Regions from separate parts of the Homo sapiens genome. Here region 2 is linked to region 1. The links are contacts of gene promoters, found by promoter capture Hi-C in blood cells and fetal thymus (Javierre and others, 2016). All regions are on one chromosome and are shown on one strand. Each heading gives the region's core, a stretch centred on a gene start or on the middle of the fragment in contact. The rest is flanking DNA. Distances are from core to core; before and after follow the strand shown.

The links. Contacts are between HindIII fragments. The CHiCAGO score rates a contact against its expected background, and 5 or more counts as called.
Region 2: a fragment that was not itself captured here is called in contact with the fragment with the promoter of IRF3 in region 1 in 1 of 17 cell types (non-activated CD4 T cells); the score reaches 5.4 in non-activated CD4 T cells.

What each region holds. Positions count from the first base shown.
Region 1 is chr19:49,663,359-49,668,734 of GRCh38, reverse strand. IRF3 (interferon regulatory factor 3) reads left to right here and starts at 2,878. Exons shown (of 8, transcript NM_001571.6): 1 at 2,878-3,104; 2 at 3,889-4,061; 3 at 5,221-5,376. The coding sequence starts at 3,897. It overlaps BCL2L12 (BCL2 like 12), which reads right to left and starts at 2,802. Exons shown (of 7, transcript NM_138639.2): 1 at 2,668-2,802; 2 at 1,936-2,050; 3 at 1,574-1,716. The coding sequence starts at 2,042. RefSeq lists silencers at 2,630-2,709, 2,750-2,899. The HindIII fragment of the contact is 30,887 bases long and covers 1-5,376 here.
Region 2 is chr19:48,988,305-48,993,680 of GRCh38, reverse strand. It overlaps GYS1 (glycogen synthase 1), which reads left to right and starts at 372. Exons shown (of 16, transcript NM_002103.5): 1 at 372-686; 2 at 2,198-2,379. The coding sequence starts at 569. It also overlaps a transcript of RUVBL2 not described here. RefSeq lists silencers at 106-465, 5,047-5,229 and enhancers at 676-815, 3,525-3,916. The HindIII fragment of the contact is 1,579 bases long and covers 461-2,039 here.

The sequences.
Region 1 (5,376 bases), core at 1,629-4,128:
ATGTATTGATTTTGGGAAACGGAGTCTCGCAATTCTCCTGCCTCAGCCTCATGAGTAGCTGGGACTACAGGCGCACGCCGCCATACCTGGCTAATTTTTTGTATTTTAGTAGAAATGGGGTTTCACCGTGTTGCCCAGGCTGACCTCAGGCAATCCACCCACCTCAGCCTCCCAAAGTGCTAGGATTACAGGCGTGAGCAACCAAGCCTGGCCATGATTCCCATTTTATAATGGGGTAAACTGAGGCCCAGTGAGAAAACTTGGTTAAAAATGCCAAAACCCTTGTACTTTTCACTTTATGAGATCCTCAGACTGGACTTAGAATGTCAGAGCTGGGGCCAGGCGCAGTGGCTCACGCCTGTAATCCCATCACTTTGGGAGGCTGAGGCAGGCAGATCACCTGAGGTTGGGAGTTCGAGAGCAGCCTGACCAACATGGAGAAACCCCATCTCTACTAAAAATACAAAAAAAATTAGCCGGGCATGGTGGCGCATGCCTATAATCCCAGCTACTTGGGAGGCTGAGGCAGGAGAATTACTTGAACCCGGGAGGTAGAGGTTGTGGTGAGCCGAGATCGGGCCATTGCACTCCAGCCTGGGCAACAAGGGCGAAACTCCGTCTCAAAAAAAAAAAAAAAAAAAAGAATGTCAGAGCTGACAGGGTGCGGTGGCTCACGTCTGCAATCTCAACATTTTGGGAGGCCGACGTGGGAGGGTCACTTGAGGCCAGGAGTTTGAGGCCAGCCTGGCCAACGTGGCGAAACCCCGTGTCTACTAAAAGTATAAAAATCAGCTAGTATGCTGGCGTGCACCTGTAATCCCAGTCACTCGGGAGGCTGAGGCACGAGAATCGCTTGAACCCAGGAGGTGGGGATTGCAGTGAGTCGAGATTGCACCCCTGCACTCCAGCCTGGGTGACAGAGCAACAATCTGTCTCCAAAAGACTGTCAGAGCTCAACTAGACCTTGAAGATGATCTCATCCAAGGAAGGCAAACACAAGACATTACTGTTAGTATCCCCTTCCCTCACTCACTACAGACATCACCAATTGATCACAGCACTTCCTCTCCCAAGCTGTGAACCCCTTTTCAAGCTAGCACTCCCAGCAGCCATTACTAGTCTGTCCAGGTTCACACCTATGAGGAAACTTGTGGGTCACCTTGATCAAGTCCAGTGACCTCCTCCCCAATTCCTACTCTGCTATTGGAAAAACAGGGGAGCAGGGAAGAGAAAGCATTTTCCCCAGAGTCACGCAACTAAAACAGCCAGGGAGATGTGATTGAAAACCAGCCCTTCTGCCCCTCTATCAGGGGTATTCCTGGCTACAAAAGTCCTAGGGGCAGGGAAGTAGTTATGGAAGGAAAGAGACAACAACCAGATTGACCAAATGCTCTCTGAAAGCCAACCCACAGAATTGACAGAAATCTAACTGGGGAGGGGAGAGGACAGGACGGTTCTGTCCTGAAGGCTGGTGCTAGAGACTCCACACAGCCACCCCCTAGCTGAGTGATCTTAAACTAGCACCTTATCCCGTGTTCTGCCGGCTTCATAGATGATCATGGAAATCTCTTACCAGGCTCTAAACCATAGCAGGGGCGGATGGGCAGAGAGCAAGGCCGAGGGGACTCAGAGGGGGCTGCTCCTCGCCCCAGGGAGCAGGGAAGACATCTTCGAAGGCGGCTCAGGAAGTCTGTTGGCTCTTCTTGGGCAGGGCTTCTGGAGAGGAGGACTTCAGAGACTGACCCCACCAGAGATCCCCTGCAAGCAGTCTCTTTCCCCAACTCCCTCCCTCCCCCGCTGAGGACCTCTCTCCAAAACCCCAAAGACAGAGAATAGAGCCAGATATAAAGAGAGGAGACAGACTGAGACCAGGAGCAAGAGTTAGGAGGGAGCCTCAAATGCTGGCCCCTGGGGGAGAAGGGCCACTCCTCTTACCTAGGTGGAGTTGGAACAGGAGACCCGGCAGCCTCACCACGCCTAAGGAAGGCAGCTAGGACCCTCAGCGTGTCTTCCCGGAGCCCCAGCTCTTCAGAGCCTGCCATGGAGGCACCTGTGAGAGAGAGGGTTAGGGACTGGACTCCAAGGGTTTAGCAAGAAGTGGAGGCTTGGGGACCAGGACTTGTGAGTCCCAAGGAAGGTGCTGAGGGCCTGGACTCCTGGGTCCTTTGGAGAGTGTGGGTCTGGGGGCCTAGACTCTTGAGTCCTCAGACGAAAAAGCGATCAGGAAAAAGACTCTTCGATCCAAGGAAAGGTGGTGGGGCTGGGTGCCCAGATTCGTGGGTCTAAAGGAGGAGGGAGCTGGGGTCCTGGACTTCTGAGTCTTAGAGAAAAAGGAACTGGAGCCCCAGACCCTTAGGTCTCCCAGGAAGAAGAGGCTTAGCGCCCCAACTCCTGGATTCTATAAGAGGCATATGCCAAACTCCTGAAACCCTTAAAGCATCGGGAACTACCAATCCCAAGAGGTTTCAGGGCAAATCTTCCCCTAGGTCCGCGCTTCTTCGCCGCGCAGCCTGCTGTGAGGTGTAGTTCCAAATCTCCGACCCCTGCTGGAATCTAGAGGACCCTGGACCCTTGGATATCAGAGAAGCGGGACTGGGGTGCCCACCACTGGATCCCGGCCCCCTCCTCTTCCCTCCTCACCCCACCCCTCGTCAACACCCCGCTGACCTGGTCCGGGGCCCCACCGCCGCCTCCTCCACTCAACTTGCGGTCTCCTCCACTGAACTCGTACAAACTTTATTAGTTCAACTTTCCCGCGCCTGCGCACTGGGCCGGGTCGATAACCGGCCCAGCGTAGAAAGGGCGGAACGCTGGGTGCACGCTCAATTTGCATGTGACGCTCCCAGCATGCCTCTGGCCGGAAACCCAAAAAAGGGCATAGGGGCGGGAACAGCCCAGCGGGCCGTCCCATCGGCTTTTGGGTCTGTTACCCAAAGAATGATAAAGTTGGTTTTATTTCAAGAAGTCGATCAAAAAGAAAGCCCCAGCGCTCTAGAGCTCAGCTGACGGGAAAGGGGGTGCGCAGCCTCGAGTTTGAGAGCTACCCGGAGCTCCAAGACAGGGGTGGGTTCCAGCTGCCCGCACGCCCCGACCTTCCATCGTAGGTAACGCGGAAGAGCCCGGGAGAGCGTTGGTGGCGTCCGAGAGCGAGGAGCGGGAAAGAGGATGGGTCTGCACGGAGAGTGGAAAGGCAGGCTGTGTACTCTGGGGAAAGTGGAGCAAGGAAGGAGCTACAGTGGCCGACGCTGGAGGTCGGCTGCAGAAAAACTAGAAAAAGTAGGGAGGAAAGAGGAAAAGAGGAGGCGTCTACACTGAGGGGGTTCTAGAGAGGGAGGGGTGGACTCCGTAGATGGGGGTAGTTCAGTCTCGAAACCTGGGGCGTGCTCTGTCCTGGAGGAGGGAGGCGGGCAGTCGGAGGGGAATTGAATGGAAGTTCTGTGTTGGAAATGTTTTGGGAGATCTTCTGTAGGGGGACTGTGGAAGGGGGTCTACATTGGGGTAAGTGCAGGAGGTAGAGGCTTACACGTGAATCGATTCTGCACTGAAATAACTAGGGAAAGAGGATGCTACCCTGAAAGTGGGGATACTTACTTTCGATGATGTGGGGGAGGGAGGAGGTCTATACTGGCGGAATTGAGGGAGTGGAGGGTCTGCACTGAAGACGCTGGGGAAGGATGTGCCATGGATATGGGAAGGAACCCTAGCTGATTAGAGAGCCTCTCGGGAGGATGGGAGGATGGGAAGAGGAGGTTTCCTGTTTGTACCCCCGAAAATATGGGTGAAGGACCTGTGCCGTGGCCCGTGAGAAGGAGGTCTGGGTGCGGAAACTCCAGGCCAGGTGGGTCCGGGGGAGGCCGGTCGCGCCCAGGAAATGCCCTATACGCGCAGGCCGGACCATGGGAACCCCAAAGCCACGGATCCTGCCCTGGCTGGTGTCGCAGCTGGACCTGGGGCAACTGGAGGGCGTGGCCTGGGTGAACAAGAGCCGCACGCGCTTCCGCATCCCTTGGAAGCACGGCCTACGGCAGGATGCACAGCAGGAGGATTTCGGAATCTTCCAGGTGCGTGCGACGACCTGGGACGCTGGAAACCCGGAGCTGCGCGCTGGGCGGAAAGGACTCCTAGTGGGCCCGGCTGAGAAGGCGGAGGTGGCGCGCGAGGGGCGGGCTCGTGCCAACGCTGGTGGGTGGGGCTAGAACGGGAGGGGCGGGGCTAGCCGGATCCGCTGACTGATGGTGGGGCGCAAGCAGGGTTGGAGCTGCAGGGTTACGGGAATAAAACCGGGAAAGCCGGTTAGTACGCAAAGGAAATGCATCCTGGGGGTTTGGGGCTTTCTAGAGGCCGGGGCTCTTGGTTGTAGGATAGATACTGGGGGATGGTTCTTGAAACATCAGAGGTGAGGCCTGGAGCCCCAAATCTGAGGTTCCTAACTACCGAATTAGTATATGCCAGAGGTGGTAAACAGTGTGAGGGGCGGGGTTATCACAGAGGGTGTCGCGGGGCAGGTGGTGCACGGGATTAGACACCAAGTTGGACTTGGAAGCCTGGCTTAGAAAGAAAAGGTTTTTGGGCCGGGGGCGGTGGTTCACACCTGTAATCCTAGCACTTTGCAAGGCCAAGGCGGGAGGATCGCTTGAGCCCAGGAGTTTGAGGCCAGCTTGGGCAACATAGGCTCCATCTCTTTAAAAACAAAAGCGAAACAAAACAAAAACCAAAGAGGTTTCAAAGGCTTTTGAAGAGGCCGAGCACAGTAGCTCATGCCTGTAATCCCAGCACTTTGGGAGGCCGAGGAGGACGGATCACCTGAGGTCAGGAGTTCAAGACCAGCCTGGCCAACATGGTGAAACCCCATCTCTACTAAAAATACAAAAATTAGCCAGGTGTAGTGGTGCCCACCTGTAATCCCAGCTACTCAGGAGGCTGAGACAGGAGAATCGCTTGAACCGGGGAGGCGGAAGTTGCAGTGAGCTGAGATTGCACCATTGCATTCCAGCCTGGGTGACAGGAGTGAAACTCCATCTCAAAAAGAAAAAAAGCCTTTTGAAAACTAGAGGTGGGGGATGGAGGTAGGTGGGACGGGGGGATTTGGGGATGGACCTTGCAGAGTTAGAACTTGCCAGGGAAAGAGGGTGGTGTTAGGACTCGGGAGACAGGGTTAGGGCCCCAGGAGCAGGATCTAAGTCGTCCTCCCCCACCATCCTGACACCACTGTTGCCCCAGGCCTGGGCCGAGGCCACTGGTGCATATGTTCCCGGGAGGGATAAGCCAGACCTGCCAACCTGGAAGAGGAATTTCCGCTCTGCCCTCAACCGCAAAGAAGGGTTGCGTTTAGCAGAGGACCGGAGCAAGGACCCTCACGACCCACATAAAATCTAC
Region 2 (5,376 bases), core at 1-2,500, 670 kb after region 1:
CTTTTGCTCAGCCCCACCACCGCCCCGCTCAGGCCGATTGCAAAATTCTTAGCTGTTCTTTGAGTAACCACACGTCCTCCACGCTCCTTTCCTCTTTATCCCACCCTCCTCCTCCTCCCCACTTTGAGGCCTCCAGCTCCAGATTGACAGAGCTGAAGGCCACTCGTTTCCGTAAAGCGCAGCGGCAAGCTCCGCCCCCTGGAGGTCTCACGGCCGAGGCGGGGCCGGGACACAGCGACTCCAACCCGTTCCACCAATGAGGACACGCGGAAATCCCCGCCCCCGGGCGTGGGCCAATGGCGCTGGCTGGGGGGGGCGGCCACCGCCTCCTGGCGGCTGCGAGGTTTCACTGCAGGGGCGCCAGTGGGCTCAGTGACGCTGCGGCCTCCTTCTGCCTAGGTCCCAACGCTTCGGGGCAGGGGTGCGGTCTTGCAATAGGAAGCCGAGCGTCTTGCAAGCTTCCCGTCGGGCACCAGCTACTCGGCCCCGCACCCTACCTGGTGCATTCCCTAGACACCTCCGGGGTCCCTACCTGGAGATCCCCGGAGCCCCCCTTCCTGCGCCAGCCATGCCTTTAAACCGCACTTTGTCCATGTCCTCACTGCCAGGACTGGAGGACTGGGAGGATGAATTCGACCTGGAGAACGCAGTGCTCTTCGAAGTGGCCTGGGAGGTGGCTAACAAGGGTGAGCACGCCAGGCGTCGGGGCCCTTGACGAGAAGGACAGTAGTGGATGGGGGCCCGGAACTCTGAGTTGTAGGAGGACGGGGCTACTAGGGGAACCCTTGTGACCTGGGCAAGGAGGCTGTGTCCTTGAGGAGGGGCTGGGAAGCCGGAGGTGGGTGGGAGAGGGATGGTTCGTTTGACTTAAGATGAAAGGAGGCTGGAAGCCCGGGTTCTGGGTCCTAGGGAAGAGGGCGCTAAAATGAGACTCCTAGGTCCTGGAGGCAGGCTTCCGAGAGACTAGATACCTGGGTCCTGAACAGGGAAGGGGATGGGGGGATGGGATTTCTGCGTGCAAACCTGGGAAGCTGCCGGGGTTTCAGACCTATGACCCTAACAGCATGGTCTAGGGGATAAAACTCCAGATTTGAGAGAGAGCTGACTGGGAGATAGGAGGCCTGAGCGGCGGTGGGAGGACCTGAGGATCTGGCTGCTTAAGAATAAAGATGGGACGGGCTGGAGACTGTAATGAATGCCTGGGCTTTGAAGGAGCTGAGGGCCTGAGCTATTAGTTCCTAGGAGTAGAGGAGCCCATGGCCTGGGACACATGCGTACTGGAATAGGGGAAGGCTGGGAAGTCCTAAGTTAGTCAGAGGCTGGGCCCTAGGATGGGAGGGGCTAGGAGCCTGCATTTCTGTGTCTTGGGCTTCAGAAAGCTGAGGTTCTGGCCTTGGAGAAGGCTGGGGCTGAAATCCCCAGGAACAAGCCAATCTCACACCTCAAAGAGCAGGGTCTGGGGGGTTGCTTTGCTGGGTCTTGGAGGAGAAAGGGACTGTGTCTCCCAGGAGGAGAGGGGGCCCGTGAACACCCAGCCGGGTATCGCCAGGGCCTGGGCTCCAGGATGGGAGGAGGCTGGGGGCTGGGGCTCCTGGGTCTGGGATAGGGTCATGGGAGAGGCAGAGCCCTGCATGCTGGTGTCCCTAGTCAGGGAGAGGAAATTGGGAGGCAGGTCAGCAAGGTCCCTGGGGGCAGGGAATGACCATGCAGGCTTCTCTTGGGCAATGGTGAGAAGCTGGATTGGCCATGAGGGGGTCTCCCTCACTGGGTTTTGGAGCCTGGCTGCGATTTAAACCCAGCTCCTGTGAGCTGGGAACTCGGGAACCTGAGTCCGGGTAGTCAGTCCTCAGCTCTGCCATCCTTAGAGCCCCAGTGCCTAATTCCTTCAGACCAAGGGGTCCCGGCACCCAGCCCCTTCTCTCTCAGACCCAGAAGTCTAGCCTGAGCCCCCTCCTCCTTCAGGGTCCTGACCCCAGCCCCCTTCTCCCTTAGACCCAGGAGGACTGCCCTCCAGCCCTCGTGTTCCCCTCATCCAAGCTTCCAACCCCTACTCCAAACTATGGGCTCCCAGTCCCCTCTTCCCCCTGAGCTAGAGGTCTGGGGCCTGAGTGCCCCCTACATCCCCGGCCCACCCCACCCCAGGCCCCAGAACTATGGACCTCGGCCGGGGCCTGCCCTCACACGCTTGGGCCCACAGTGGGTGGCATCTACACGGTGCTGCAGACGAAGGCGAAGGTGACAGGGGACGAATGGGGCGACAACTACTTCCTGGTGGGGCCGTACACGGAGCAGGGCGTGAGGACCCAGGTGGAACTGCTGGAGGCCCCCACCCCGGCCCTGAAGAGGACACTGGATTCCATGAACAGCAAGGGCTGCAAGGTGGGACGTGGCCCAGCCCAGGGCAGAAGCGGGTGGACAGCCTGCCATCGGGGTGGGAGCCACAGACGGAGAGGGTGCAGGGTGGACAGCCCCAGCCAGAGAGCGAGGCAGGCTTGGACACAGGAAGGAGGCGTGATAGGACACCCAGACAGATGCAGGGCCTGGAAGTGGGTGGGTGGATCCCAGACATGGGCGAATGGACAGACAGATGGCAAGTATGAGACAGACTGAGACGGAGATCCAAGAGGCCAAGGTCCTCAGACCCAGAGAGAAAGAGAGCAAGATCGAAAGACAGCCTGGTCAACATGGCGAAACCCCGTCTCTACCAAAAATACAAAAATTAGCTGGGTGTGGTGGCGGGTGCCTGTAATCCCAGCTACTCGGGAGGCTGAGGCAGGAGAATCGCTTGAACCCGGGAGGCGGAGGTTGCAGTGAGCTGCGATTGGGCCACTGCACTCCAGCCTGGGCGACGGAGCGAGACTCTGTCTCAGAAAAGAATGCCAGCCAGCCAGGCAGAGCTGGGGAGAAGTGGGCCTGAGGTCAGGAAGGAGCAGGATTCTGGAGCTTGAAGTTCAAGTTCACCCTCCACTTGCTGCCTGTGTGTCCTTGGCTAATGGACATGCTAATAGCGTCTACCTTCTAGCGGTGCTGGGAGGAGGAAACAGTTAATAAGGACAAAGTGGTTAGTAGAGTTCTTGGCATGAAGGTAGCACATTGTGTGGGCGGTGATTGTCATTGTTATGATCATCGTCATTATTGTTACTAACAGCCAAGCTTGGAGAGTGAGGGGGACAGGCAGACCAAGGGAGAAGGGTGGATGGAGCCACAGGCAAGAGTAATAGACTGGGGACAGAAGAGAGGCCACCAGATGTTTCAGAAAGCCAGTCCTAGAAGGAGAGAGAAGCATGGAATATCGGGGAAGAGAGGAGAGGTCAGTGGACAGACCCACAGGACAGAGTCTGAGATGGGCAGATCAGGGATTAGAGAGGAGGGGGAGTTCCAGGGCCCCAGGGTGAAGACGGAAAGAGACACGCTGTTGTCCAAGGAGAAAGCCATCAGGCGGCACGCTGTTGTCCAAGGAGAAAGCCATCAGGCGGCAGGGCTAAGGGACAGACAGGTCCAGGCTGGGGATGGAGAGGCACTGTGGTTCCTTTACTCATTCACAGCCTCTGGTTTGGGGTGGGGTCTGGAATCCATTCAGGTCCGACTGTGTCCCTAAGGGAACCCAGAACAGCCCAGTCGCTTCCTGAGGGCAGCTGCTTCCCACGTGCTGGGGGCCTAAGAATAGCCCCCCCCCCCCCCCAGCAAAAGGGCAGACAACAGCTGGGAGGGGGAGGGACCTCAGAGCGAGGCTCCAGGCAGCAAAAAGCCAGGTCGGCGAGGAGCGGGGCTGCTTCTCCACTGCTGTGGCAGCAGGCCCAGAACCAAAGCCATGGTCTCAGGGAGGAAAACAGCCAACTGGAGAAATGTGGCAGAGGCAGAAGTGAGACAGCAAGTCTTAGAAACACGGCAGTGGCTAGAAAAATGCAGCCCTGGGGCACGGACAGAGGATGGGCTATGTTAGAAATGTGTGGCGTGGCCGAGGGCGGTGGCTCATGCCTGGAATCCCAGCACTTTGGGAGGCCGAGGTGAGAGGATAGCTTGAGCCCAGGAGTTCCTGACCCACCTGGGCAACATGGCGAAACTCTGTCTCTACTAAAAATACAAAAAATTAGCCAGGCATGATGGTGCGTGCTCGTGATCCCAGTTACTCAGGAGGCTGAGGTGGGAGGATGGGATGTGGAGGCTGTAGTGAGCCATAATTTTTTTTTTTTTTTTTTCAGATAGAATCTCACTCTGTCGCTGAGTCTGGAGTGCAGTGGTACAATCTCGACTCACTGCAACCTCCGCCTCCCGCGTTCAAGCAATTCTCCTGCCTCGGCCTCCCAAGTAGCTGGGACCTCAGGCACATGCTGCCACGCCCGGCTAATTTTTTGTATTTTAGTAGAGACAGGGTTTCACCATGTTGCCCAGGCTGGTCTCAAACTCCTGAGCTCAGGCAATCCGCCCGCCTCGGCCCCCCAAAGAGCTAGGATTACAGGCGTGAGCCACCGCGCCCAGCCCAGTGAGCCATGATTGCACCACTGCACTCCAGCCTGGGTGACCGGAGTGAGACCCTGTCAAAAACAAAAACAAACAAAAAAAAATGGAAGAAAGAAAGAAAAAGGAGAGAGGGAGGGAAGGAGGGAGAGAGGGAAGGAAGGAAGGAAGGAAGCAAGGAAGGAAGGAAGGAGGCTGTGGACTACAAAATGGGCCTATGGATAGAGGAAAGAGGTCGCAGGTGACAGATATGTGATGAAAGGAACAGAAACAAGGCATCATGGGGAAGAAAAGTGGCAGCATGAACAGTAAGAGAATCATTACAGGCTGGGTGCAGTAGCTCACGCCTGTAATCCCAGCACTTTGGTAGGCTGAGGCCAGGAGTTTGAGACCAGCCTGGGCAACATGGTGAAACCCTGTCCTTACAAAAAAGTTAAAAATTAGCCGGGATGTGATACCTTGTGCCTGTGGTCCCAGCTACGTGGGAAGCTGCGGTGGAAGGATTGCTTGAGCCTGGGAGATCGAAGCTTCAGTGAACCGTAATTGCACCACTCCCTTCCAGGCTGGAGGACAGAGCAAGACCCCGTCTCTGAAAATAAAAAAGGGCCTGCTTTAGGTGGCTCACACTTCTAATCTCAACACTTTGGGAGGCTAAGCAAGAAAACTGCTTGAACGCAGGAGTTCACGATCAGCCTGGGCAACATAGTGAGACCCCATCTCCACAAAAAATTAAAAAATCAGCCTGGCATGGTGGCCCACGCCTGTAGGAGGTGAGGTGGGAGGATTGACTGAGCCAGGGAGGTTGAGGCTATAGTGAACCATGTTCACACCACTGCACTCCAGCCTGGGCAACAGAGCGAGACCCTGTCTGAAAACAAAAAAGAAGCATCCCGTGGAAGGAATTAGCATCAGAAAGAA